Regions from separate parts of the Homo sapiens genome. Here regions 2 and 3 are each linked to region 1. The links are contacts of gene promoters, found by promoter capture Hi-C in blood cells and fetal thymus (Javierre and others, 2016). All regions are on one chromosome and are shown on one strand. The core of a region is centred on a gene start or on the middle of the fragment in contact, and the rest is flanking DNA. Distances in the headings are between cores, read along the strand shown.

Region 1 (4,051 bases), core at 561-3,060:
GCTCTAGCCTATGACATGGCCTGCTTTTGCTCTAAAGAGAATGTTTTGGGGTTTGTTTCAAACTCAGAGAAATAAAGACTCAATCATCCCCTGCTCAATTAGAATACCTCACTTTATAACAAATTGTTTGTTTTTATGAAATGAGCTACACTGCATGAATCCACCCTTCCTCTTGCCTAACCATCTCTTCTTTGGCCTATCCAGAGGGTACAAAGATGGCCATTTTCTGACAATTTGAGGTACCAAAAAAGAGAGAGGGACCAGGCGAGGTGGCTCACACTTGTAATCCCAGCACTTTGGGAGGCTGAGGCAGGTGGATCACCTGAGGTCAGGAGTTTGAGACCAGCCTGGCCAATGTGGTGAAAGCCCGTCTCTACTAAAAATACAAAAATTAGCTGGGCATGATACCATGCGCCTGTAATCTCAGCTACTTGGGAGGCTGAGGCAGGAGAATTGCTTGAACCCGGGAGGTGGAGGTTGCAGTGAACCGAGACCGGGCCACTGCACTCCAGCCTGGGCAACAAGAGCGAGACTCCGTCTCAAAAAACAAAAACAAAAACAAACAAACAAAAAATAAATTGTAAAAAGAGAGAGGGCTTCTTGGTTCAAACACTGGCATCTAGACACTTTATTCTGGCTAGTAGAAACAGAAATCACTGGGTCTTAATGCCTTCCTTCATCCTCAAGGCAAGAGACATTCCCATCTACTCATTCTTTCACTTAATGAATATTTTTTGAGTCCTTTGTTTCAGATGCTATTCAAGTCTTAAAGACACAGCAGTGAACAAATTAACAAGGTCCCTGCTTTTAAGAATCTTACATTCTAGTTTGGGGGAAGCAGCCAATAAACTTGTAAAAAAAATTCAACTAGTGATAAATGCCATGAAATAAATAAAACAGAATACTGTAACAGAATAACTGTGAAAGGGTGAAAGGTGGCTGATTTAGACAAATTAGACAGGAATGAGTTCTCACAGCAGGAAGGGTCACCAGATAAAATACAGAACGTACAGTTACATTTGAATTTCAGGCAAACGATGAATACTTTTTTAGTCTAAGTATTTTCCAGGCACTGTTGGAGGTGTACTAAAGAAAAGTATTCATTTTTTTTCTCTGAAATTCTAATTTAATTTGGTGTCCTGTATTTCTATTTGCTAATTCTTGCAGGCCTACCAATAGGTGATATTTGAGCTTAGGATTGAATGACAGCTATGCAAAGATTCTGGGAAAGAGTGATTCAGGCAGAGAGAATATCCAGTGTAAATGTCAGAATAACCAGAGGGAGGGACGTACACATGAGATTAGATAAATAGGCAGGCAGGGGCCAGATCACAGAATCCTGTAGGGATGGCAAAAAGTTTGAATCAATCTCTGTCTCTGTCTGTTTCTCCCTTCTCCCTTCCCCTACCTCTCATTCTAAGAGTGATGATAAGCCACTGGAGTTGTAAGGAAGAGAATGACACCTCCTAACGGATATTTGGCTGCTGTGTGGTCGGCAACTTTTGGAAGGACTTAGAAGACAAATTCAGAAGACAAACTTAAGCTTGTGCCACTGGCCTGGGAAGAAGCTTCTTTATTCGGAGGTGGACCCAACTGGGAGCTCTGGCCGCGCGTTCAGGTTAACTAGGCGGTTGCTATGAACGGGCAGCTTGGCGGTTGCTAGGGCTGGAGCGGGCTGGGGCTCCACGCAGGGCGACGCCTAGGCGGCTGGAGCGGGGGCGGAGCCAGGAGGGTGACGGCGCGCGCCGCGCGTTCACAGGAAGTCGCTCTGAGGCCGAGAGGGACGCGAGCGGAAGTGACGTACGTCGTGCACACGTGGTCCGGCGTGGTTCAGGCGGGTGTCTTCGGCCGGGCTTGGGAACATAAAAGTTTGTTTCACCACGTAAGCCGGACCTCGCACTCCGGTCCCGGTCTCGTCGCCAAGATGGTGAAGCCCAAGTACAAAGGACGGAGCACCATCAACCCGTCCAAGGCCAGCACAAACCCAGGTACAGGCGGCAGGGCTGATCGAGGGTGGAGCTTGGAGGAAGTATAGGGAAGGGCTCCGAGGAGCACTGGAGGGGAAGGAGGGTTACTCGAGTGGCATTGCTTAGAATGACTACGAGCGGGGTGGCTGTTGGGGATGAAAAGGGAAAAAGGAAAGCAATATTTGTGGTGGTTTCTTCTCAGGGGGGAACTGAGGAGGGCTCAGTGCACGCCTGGCAGGCCAAAGTGTAGTCAACTGGTCTGAAGTCAAGGAAAGTGAACACTCAGGCTGACAGCCTTGGGTCCTCTCCAGTTGAGAGATGCAGAGAAAGTCAGATTAAAAATGGTGTAGGTTGACCCTTCGGGCCTTTTACACGTGATCATACTTGCCTGCCACCTTAGCTTTGACCTTTAAAATGAGAAAGGGCTTATAGTTTTGGCCCTTGGAATTATTCTATCTGGTAAAGTGCTTAGAGAACCCTACAAAGAAGTCAGTATGATCATTGCAGTAAGGCTGTTTAGGAGATGTGTGTAAGTTTTGGCGAGGTTCCACCTGTACGATTAACAAGACATCCTATGGGAGAGTTCCTTCCATTCAGGTTTAATTAATAAAACTTTGTTTTAAAATATGGTTTAGAATTTTTGACAATTTTAATGCAAGTTGAATGTTTATTCCGGATTGATAATAAATTATTCACTTTGCACAAACTGGAATCTCAGAATGTTAGACCCCAAAAGGCCCTTAGAGATTATGATTTTACAGGTGAAGAGACTGAATCAAAATACAGGAAGTGGCCTGTCATAATTGCAACAGTTAGTGAGTAGTAGTAGAGCCGCCAGTTTCTACTGTTAGAGACTGTTAGGAGAGCCAATGGGCTGTGGTTTCAGCCTGTCTTCTACTGTATCACTTCAGGACCAGACAGGTGATTTAAGGGGCTCCTGGCCAGGTGTGGTGGCTCACGCCTGTAATCCCAGCACTTTGGGAGGCCGAGGCGGTCGGATCACCCGAGGTCAGGAGTTCAAGACCAGCCTGACCAACATGATGAAACCCCCTCTCTACAAAAATACAAAGATTAGCCGGGCATGATGGCGGATGCCCGTAATCCCAGCTACTCGGGAGGCTGAGGTGGAAGAATTGCATGAACCGGGGAGGTGGAGGTTGTAGTGAGCTGAGATCGCGACACTGCACTCCAGCCTGGGTGACAGAGCACGACTCTGTCTCAAAAAAAAGATAATAATAATGAATAAATGAATAAATAGGTAAATAAAGGGCTCCCAAAATGAGAAGCTAGGCTAGTATTACCCTATTCGTTTGTCCTTCTCTTTCTCTTTGAGATGTAAGGCAAGAATTGCTGTGTTGATTAAACAAAAATCAAACATTAAGAAAGTAAGAACACATATATCAAAATTATAGTCTCCATGGTGCCTTGCATGGAGCAGGCACTCAATATTTGTTAAACTGAGACACAGAGGTAGGTATCTTCGTGGTTAAGACCATAGATGGTGATCAAATGCTCATGTACAAATTCTGGCTCTGCCATTTAGTAACGGTTTGACCTTGGGCAAGGTGTCTGACCACTGTGCCTCAGTTTCTCACTCCGCAGCATGGGGATAATATATCTATAGGATTATTGTATAGATTAAATCAGATGATGCCTATAATTTGGATAACACAGTGCCATCATAAGTGCTCAAAAATATTAGCTATTCTTCTCAAATACAATCCTATCGAAGATCAAAGATTGGGTCAGCTTTGTCATACCATGTAGCTTCAAGTACTAATTATTGGAGCAACATATGGAGAAAGTAGAGATTTTTGTGGTTGGTGGCTTCTTACCTAATTTGGGTGAACTACTTGTTGCATTTTAAGCAATGACTTGTTGGTTATACTGGTTGGTTATCAAATAGTGCACTGTGTACTTCTGCCTTTTGTAGATCGAGTGCAGGGAGCAGGAGGCCAAAACATGAGGGACCGGGCCACCATCCGGCGCCTGAATATGTATAGGCAAAAGGAGCGCAGGTGAGCACTGGGTGCTGTCATCCTTTCTCTTTTCCTTCATGCCCTTGACTGCTAGCTGAGACTGAT
Region 2 (4,051 bases), core at 1,095-3,594, 1.3 Mb before region 1:
ATCCAAGCAGCTAAATTATAACTTGCCCCACTGCTTCCTTCAAGAGAGCAGCTATATGTCTTAAATAGGTCAAATACTGCTACAGTGAAAGTTTCCATAATACTGCCACCATACCAGTGAACAATCTATTGCAAGTAATATCTATAATGAGATTCTGGTACCATAAGGCCGGGCGCAGTGGCTCACGCCTGTAATCCCAGCACTTTGGGAGGCCGAGGCAGGTGGATCACCTGAGGTTGGGAGTTCGAAACTAGCCTGACCAATATGGAGGAACCCCATCTCTACTAAAAATACAAAATTAGCTGGGCATGGTGGCGCATGTCTGTAATACCAGCTACTCTGGAGCCTGGGGCAGGAGAATCACTTGAACCTGGGAGGTGGAGGTTGCGGTGAGCCGAGATTGTGCCATTGCACTCCAGCCTGGGCAACAAGAGGGAAACTTCGTCTCAAAAAAAAAAAAAAAAAAAAGATTCTGGTACCATAAAATAGTTGAGAATTTTTGGAGTTCTTTTTGTTTTCTGAGACAGAGTTTCTGCTCTTGTCGCCAAGGCTGGAGTGCAATGGCGCGATCTTGGCTCACCGCAACCTCTGCCTCCCAGGTTCAAGTGATTCTCCTGCCTCAGCCTCCTGAGTAGCTGGGGTTACAGATGCCTGCCACCACACCCAGCTAATTTTTTGTATTTTTGTAGAGACAGTGTTTCACCATGTTGGCCAGGCTGGTCTCGAACTCCTGACCTCAGGTGATCCGCATCGGCCTCCCAAAGTGCTGGGATTACAGGTGTGAGCCACTGTGCTGGGCTTGAAGTTCATTTTAACGTAAGAATTTACAAAATTTGGGCTGGGCGCGGTGGCTTACTATGGGAGGCCGAGGCGGGTGGATCACTCAAGGTTCAGGAGTTCAAGACCAGCCTGGCCAACATGGTGAAACCCCGTCTCTACTAACAATACAAAAATTAGCCAAGCGTGGTGGCACTTGCCTGTAGTCTCAGCTACTTGGCAGGCTCAGGCACGAGAATCACTTGAACCTGGGAAGTGGAGGTTGCAGTGGGCTGAGATCCTGCCACTGCACTCTAGTCTGGGCAACAGAGTGAGACTCTGTCTCCCCCCACCAAAAAAAAAGAAAAAAAGTATACTTTTTCATAGTAAAGTATAATAAGTACTTTATACATATTCATAAATATTACTGAGATGAATTTCTGAAAATGTTCACCAATTGCCAGGAAGAAACCAGAATTTATTTCAAATTTATTTCAATTTGGATTAAAAAAACTAATCTAAATTCCTATGACAGCCAGATCTGTTTCCTCTGGTTTCACTGAATGCCATATCTTACTGAATTATCAAATGAAGCATATTCGTTTTCCTATGTGTATAAATGAGATTTAAAAATCACTGACTTTTTGACCGGGCACGGTGGCTCATGCCTGTAATCCTGGCACTTTGGGAGGCTGAGGCGGGTGGATCACGAGGTCAGGAGATCGAGATCATCCTGGCCAACATGGTGAAACCCCGTGTCTACTAAAATACAAAAAATTATCCCGGGGGGTGTTGGCAGGCGCCTGTAATCCCAGCTACTCAGGAGGATGAGGCAGGGGAATCGCTTGAACCCAGGAGGCGGAGGTTGCAATGCGCCGAGATTGCGCCACTGCACTCCAGCCTGGCGACAGAGCAAGACTCTGTCCCAAAAGAAAGAAAGAAAGAAAAAAAAATCACTGACTTTTCAAGCCAGTAATGGCATGTTGGGGAAAAAGAAATTGACTTTGTTATAACTTTTATATCAAATAATCTTAATAAATAAGGTTAAGATCAGGTTACTAGTTTTAGAAACCTTTCCAAAAGTTCTGTTGAAAAACAACAATAGGCTGGGCATGGTGGCTCACGCCTGTAATCCCAGCACTTTGGGAGGCCGAGGTGGGCAGATCACCTGAGGTCAGGAGTTCGAGACCAGCCTGGCCAACATGGAGAAACATCATCTCTACTAAAAATACAAAATTATCCGGGCATGGTGGTGCATGCCTGTAATCACAGCTACTCAGGAGGCTGAGGCAGGAGAATCGCTTGAACCCAGGAGGTGGAGGTTGCGGTGAGCTGAGATCATGCCATTGCACTCCAGCCTGGGCTACAGAGTGAGACTCCGTCTCAAAAAAAAAAAAAAAAAGAATATAATTTTAGGCCATGCGCATTGGCTCATGCCTGTAATCCCAGCACTTTGGGAGGCCGAGGTGGCCAGATCATCTGAGGTCAAGGGTTTGATCTCAGCTCACTGCAACCTCTGCCTTCCAGGTTCAAGCGATTCTCTTGCCTCAGCCTCCCGAGTAGCTGGGACTACAAGCGCCTGCCACCACGCCTGGCTAATTTTTGTATTTTTAGTAGAGGCGGGGTTTTACCATGTTGGCCAGGCTGGTCTGGAACTCCTGACCTCAAATGATCCACCCACCTTGGCCTCCCAAAGTGTTGGGATTACAGGTGTGAGCCACCCCGCCCAGCCTATATTCTTAATAGAGAATATATACACTCCTCCTCCAGGTATCATGTTTTTTTCATTGTATTGTGATGTCTAAATATAAGTGATTTTAAATTCCTGACATTTAAGTATATTATTGGTAACAGATTCACACTTTGGCCAGGTGTGGTGACCCACACCTGTAATTCCCACACTTTGGGAGGTGAAGGCAAGAGGATCACTTGAGTCTAGGAGTTTAAGACTAGCTGCAGCAATAGAGTGAGACCCTGTCTCTACAAAAAAATAAAAAAAATTATCTGGGTGTAGTTGCACACACCTGCAGTCCCAGCTACTCAGGAGGCTGAGAGGGGAGATGATCGCTTGAGTCTGGGAGGTTGAGGCTGCAGGGAGTTGTGGTTGCAACACTGTACTCCAGCCTGGGCAACAGAGGGAGACTCTGTCTCAACAAACAAACAAACAAAGAAAAAACCCCACAGCTATCTAGGGAAAAAGTAAAGCAACCAGCATATAGAAGTGACATATTGTTATATTTTCACCATAGGTTTGCTTTAAGAAATAGTGCTCCCTTCAGAATGGAAGAATTTATCTGCCTCTTATTTGATGTGGATCAGAGCTAAGATGGCTGACTAAATAAACATGGGGGACTGGAATCTCCTTGGAGATACTCTGGAGGAAGTTCACATCCACTCCACCATGATTGGAAAGATCTGGCTCACCATCCTGTTCATATTTCGAATGCTTGTTCTGGGTGTAGCAGCTGAAGATGTCTGGAATGATGAGCAGTCTGGCTTCATCTGCAATACAGAACAACCAGGCTGCAGAAATGTATGCTACGACCAGGCCTTTCCTATCTCCCTCATTAGATACTGGGTTCTGCAGGTGATATTTGTGTCTTCACCATCCCTGGTCTACATGGGCCATGCATTGTACCGACTGAGAGTTCTTGAGGAAGAGAGGCAAAGGATGAAAGCTCAGTTAAGAGTAGAACTGGAGGAGGTAGAGTTTGAAATGCCTAGGGATCGGAGGAGATTGGAGCAAGAGCTTTGTCAGCTGGAGAAAAGGAAACTAAATAAAGCTCCACTCAGAGGAACCTTGCTTTGCACTTATGTGATACACATTTTCACTCGCTCTGTGGTTGAAGTTGGATTCATGATTGGACAGTACCTTTTATATGGATTTCACTTAGAGCCGCTATTTAAGTGCCATGGCCACCCGTGTCCAAATATAATCGACTGTTTTGTCTCAAGACCAACAGAAAAGACAATATTCCTATTATTTATGCAATCTATAGCCACTATTTCACTTTTCTTAAACATTCTTGAAATTTTCCACCTAGGTTTTAAAAAGATTAAAAGAGGGCTTTGGGGAAAATACAAGTTGAAGAAGGAACATAATGAATTCCATGCAAACAAGGCAAAACAAAATGTAGCCAAATACCAGAGCACATCTGCAAATTCACTGAAGCGACTCCCTTCTGCCCCTGATTATAATCTGTTAGTGGAAAAGCAAACACACACTGCAGTGTACCCTAGTTTAAATTCATCTTCTGTATTCCAGCCAAATCCTGACAATCATAGTGTAAATGAT
Region 3 (4,051 bases), core at 723-3,222, 1.3 Mb before region 1:
AGATTGCACCCATTTCAGTAGTTGTGGCCTGGTGAATGTAATTACTGGTGCTGTTCCCCCTGTAGGGGTGTGTTTTTAAAAATCTGAGACTTTGAGAATATTTTGCAGACCTAGTCTGTTTGTTTTCACTTTTGGGCCTTCATGAACAAATGGAGGGCTGTACACGTTTGTTTGTTTATGTTTTTGAGACGGAGTCTCTCGCTCTGTCGCCCAGGCTGGAGAATGCAGTGGTGCAATCTCGGCTCACTGCAACCTCCACCTCCCTGGTTCAAGTAATTCTCCCGCCTCAGCCTCCCGAATAGCTGGGATTACAGGCGCGCGCCACCACGCCCGGCTAATTATTGTATTTTTAGTAGAGACGGGGTTTCACCATGTTGGCCAGGGTCATCTCGAACTGCTGACCTCAAGTGATCATCCGCCTTGGCCTCCCAAAGTGCTGGGATTACAGGTGTGAGTCACCACGCTGGCCTACACTGTTTAGTGAGGGTTAAATAGAGGCAAGGTTGACTTCCTCCATCAGCCAAACCCATTATACGCGGAGTGAGCTGGTAATAAAACTAGTATCAGCAGGCACCTGGTCTTTTCACCTCTCCACTCTGTTGCAAAGGCCTATCCAAAATAAATCTGTGATTTTTTTTTCTTTCTGAATCTGTGATATTTTGTAGATGGGATCTTTTTAAAAAGCAGCGTTCTTCCAGGTTTGCTGGAGTACTGTGTTTTATTTACCTTGATTTTCACCTCTACAGCAAAACTTGGGTACGTTGACTGTAGGTTTTTAGTAAACTAATTTCAGTTATTCACATTTGTTACTGAGAAAACCTTGAGAGTAATTGTTCACTTTTCTCTTCTAGACAGTAAGAGGCAAAGTAGTTTTATGTTAGAACTGTGTAGGTTGTGATTATTGTGATCCTTTTTTTTTTGTTTGTTTGTTATGGAGTCTTGCTCATCGCCCAGGCTGGAGGGCAGTGGTGTGATCTTCACTCACTGCAGCCTCCACCTCCTGGGTTCAAGTGATTCTCCTGCCTCAGCTTCCCAAGTAGCTGGGACTACAGGCGTGCACCACCACGCCCGACTAATTTTGGTATTTTTAGTGGGGATGGGGTTTCACCATATTGGTCAGGCTGGTCTCGAACTCCTGACCTCAAGTGATCCGCCCGCCTCGGCCGCCTAAAGTGCTGGGATTGAAGGCGTGAGCCACCGCACCCGGGCCGATTATTGTGACTCTTAACAATTGCCTTTACGTTTCTTTTCTCATGAGAGCTATCTTTTCCCTGTCAGTCCCCGTGGCCTCCCCCTGGACGTTTTCACTTTCTACTTGGTATAGTTACTGCCCTTCTTAGACTGCAAAGTCAGTGAGGGCAGAGTCCAGTCTGTTTCACTTTTTAAATTACTCCTCAGAGCCTGAGGTAGGCATTCAAGTAATTTTTGAATAAACCAGACTTCTTAAGCTTTAGCTGTAAGACTTTTATAATCTTAAAGCAGATTTTGGTAGAATTAATGTTAGCTTTCCCCCAGAAAAACTAATGGAGGTGATAGAGATTGCTACTATTAGTACTGAGTATGGTGCATAGAACATAGGAGAAAAGATTTAGCTCCAAAATAGATTTAATGGAAATTAATTTGGTGTCTTCTTTTGTCAAAAATAAAGGGATAGTGAATACCAATGGATTCACCATTCAGTTTCTACTTTTCAAAAAAAATTTTTTTTTGTGGGATCAAATGTTTAAATGTTAAACCAGGGTGGAATTTTAAATTTAAATTCTGAAGTTTAATAGTCATAAAATTGCCTGTTTTCTTTTAACAGGTGGTGTTTCATAAGATGTCACCCAACGAGACCCTCTTTTTGGAAAGTACCAACAAGATTTATAAGGATGACATTTCCAATAGCTCCTTTGTGAATTTCCAGATATGGGATTTTCCTGGGCAAATGGACTTTTTTGACCCAACCTTTGACTATGAGATGATCTTCAGGGGAACAGGAGCATTGATATACGTCATTGACGCACAGGTAGTCAGTAATGTGTTTACTCCTCTTTCCTGGTGGGAAAAAGATGTAGAAACAAAGGAAAGTTGTTTATCTTCTTTGTCATGTGGTTGCAGCTTATCTCTTTGGCAGTAGATTCCCTAACAGTGTAAGAGATGCAGTTGCAGAGTGCTTTGGGAGCAGACATGCATTGTGCAGGTACAGAATATCAGATGATTAGGAGATATGGTTTACATCCTTGAGTCCTAGTTGATGAGCAGCTAACATTGGCTTTCCACTTTTATTGGTTGCCATATTTTATAATAATTTTATAATAATAGTGATGTTATTCCCTGAAAATATCCCATCCCATAACATAAAGAGGAATATGAGAACTGAGTCAGTAGATATTAGAGTGAATAGTTTACTTAATTGTCAAAATTGAGTTTAGCTCAACAAACATTTATGGAGGGCCTAGCATGTGGCAGTCAGTGAGATGAATGGGGCAAGTCCCTATCCTTTAAGAAGCTTACTTTTTATAAGCTTAAGCATTAGTTAAGAATGCTTTCTGAGTGATAGGCTCTACAGAGGGTGCCTTCACGTACAGGACCTAATTAATTTAAGCTTCACAATATTGTTAGGTAGGTATTGTAATTCTGATCTTACAGATGAGAAAACTGAGATCAGAGTTTAAGCAGCTTGCTTAAAGTGACACACTGAATAAATGGCAGAGCTGGGATTACTTAAAAAAATTATGTTGGGAAAAAATGTTCATATCATTTTTTTCTTTCTTAAATTAATATTAAAAATTACAAGCATTAACTTGGTAATTGAATTTTTTTATCTTGAGACAATTGAAGAGTTATTTAGTAGTATAGTATATTTGAATGTTTGAATATTGATGATAATTAGGATAGTATTTTTCTGTGGTTGGGGAAAGAGGTGGTTTGAGGCTTTAACTCATTACTTGGCTTTTGTAAGATTTATTTTAAAAAATATTTTGTTCTGACTTACAGGATGACTACATGGAGGCTTTAACAAGACTTCACATTACTGTTTCTAAAGCCTACAAAGTTAACCCAGACATGAATTTTGAGGTTTTTATTCACAAAGTTGATGGTCTGTCTGATGATCACAAAATAGAAACACAGAGGGACATTCATCAAAGGGCCAATGATGACCTTGCAGATGCTGGGCTAGAAAAACTCCATCTTAGGTAACAACATGTGTGTTTGATATGAAAGCCCTGAACAAGGTGTAAATGTATTCCCATCTCTGTCATTACAAACACCATAGCTTTCTGCTACCTGTGTGCCCTTTGCCACATCTTTTATGTTTTTGATCTTGTTGTTGAATTCCAGGCTGTCTGGGGAGCCTGATATTGAGAAATTACCCACTTTTTGCGTTTTCCTGGAGATTGAAGTCATGTGAAGTGTTTCCACTGGTGCTTTTCCAAATTCATCTCAAGAGACTGGAGTCAGGCTGTTTCTTCATGGCATAAATCTGCTTTGGGACTCCTTCCTCTTGGTTTCATTACTTTTCCCCGCCTTGCATCAGTGAAGTGAATCTGTCACATTTGTTGTGGAAGTCTTTAGCTTGAGTCTTAGACAGTATCTTTCTCAGTAGGAACAGCCTTATACAGAGAGTGCACTTTCAAATCTGGACTGACTCTTTTTATTTTTCATTTTTATTTTTCCTGCTGGCTCCCTTCCACCTCCCCCCTGGACTGACTGTAATATATCTTAGCTTTTAAAACACTTTATACTTTTATGAAACTCTATAAAGTTTGGCTTAGGTGGGTTTATCTTATAAATGTGCATAAGGCTGCTATTAAATTTAGAGGACTATTGGTTTGTAACTACTGTTAAGAAATTATTATTAAATAATACCTACTTGATAGGATTGATTTGTGTATTTGCATTCTAAAAGTGTATGAGGAATATTTTTGTACATCTTATTTTATTTGGTGATATAGGTAGAAATGAGTATTAAAAAGTACCCAAGAAAATATTCTCTTGACGATAGAAGTAGCTTAAAGAGGGAGAAGGGGAGAGAGACAGCAAGTTATTTCTCTGTCCCCGTTCTATT

What was found. Contacts are between HindIII fragments. The CHiCAGO score rates a contact against its expected background, and 5 or more counts as called.
Region 2: a fragment that was not itself captured here is called in contact with the fragment with the promoter of GNL2 in region 1 in 1 of 17 cell types (neutrophils); the score reaches 6.0 in neutrophils.
Region 3: a fragment that was not itself captured here is called in contact with the fragment with the promoter of GNL2 in region 1 in 1 of 17 cell types (total B cells); the score reaches 9.5 in total B cells.

The regions. Positions count from the first base shown.
Region 1 is chr1:37,593,696-37,597,746 of GRCh38, reverse strand. It overlaps GNL2 (G protein nucleolar 2), which reads left to right and starts at 1,810. Exons shown (of 16, transcript NM_013285.3): 1 at 1,810-1,988; 2 at 3,901-3,985. The coding sequence starts at 1,925. RefSeq lists enhancers at 1,892-2,081, 2,252-2,311. The HindIII fragment of the contact is 6,511 bases long and covers 1,571-4,051 here.
Region 2 is chr1:38,875,148-38,879,198 of GRCh38, reverse strand. GJA9 (gap junction protein alpha 9) reads left to right here. Exons shown (of 2, transcript NM_030772.5): 2 at 3,006-4,051. The coding sequence starts at 3,101. It overlaps RRAGC-DT (RRAGC divergent transcript), which reads right to left. Exons shown (of 2, transcript NR_186075.1): 2 at 2,973-3,258. All of the region lies in intron 1 of GJA9-MYCBP (GJA9-MYCBP readthrough), which reads left to right. Among named protein-coding and RNA genes, the nearest start is that of MYCBP, 3.8 kb to the right of the region's middle. The HindIII fragment of the contact is 8,897 bases long and covers 1-4,051 here.
Region 3 is chr1:38,854,836-38,858,886 of GRCh38, reverse strand. RRAGC (Ras related GTP binding C) reads left to right here. Exons shown (of 7, transcript NM_022157.4): 2 at 1,805-2,008; 3 at 2,980-3,179. Among named protein-coding and RNA genes, the nearest start is that of RRAGC, 2.9 kb to the left of the region's middle. The HindIII fragment of the contact is 1,043 bases long and covers 1,451-2,493 here.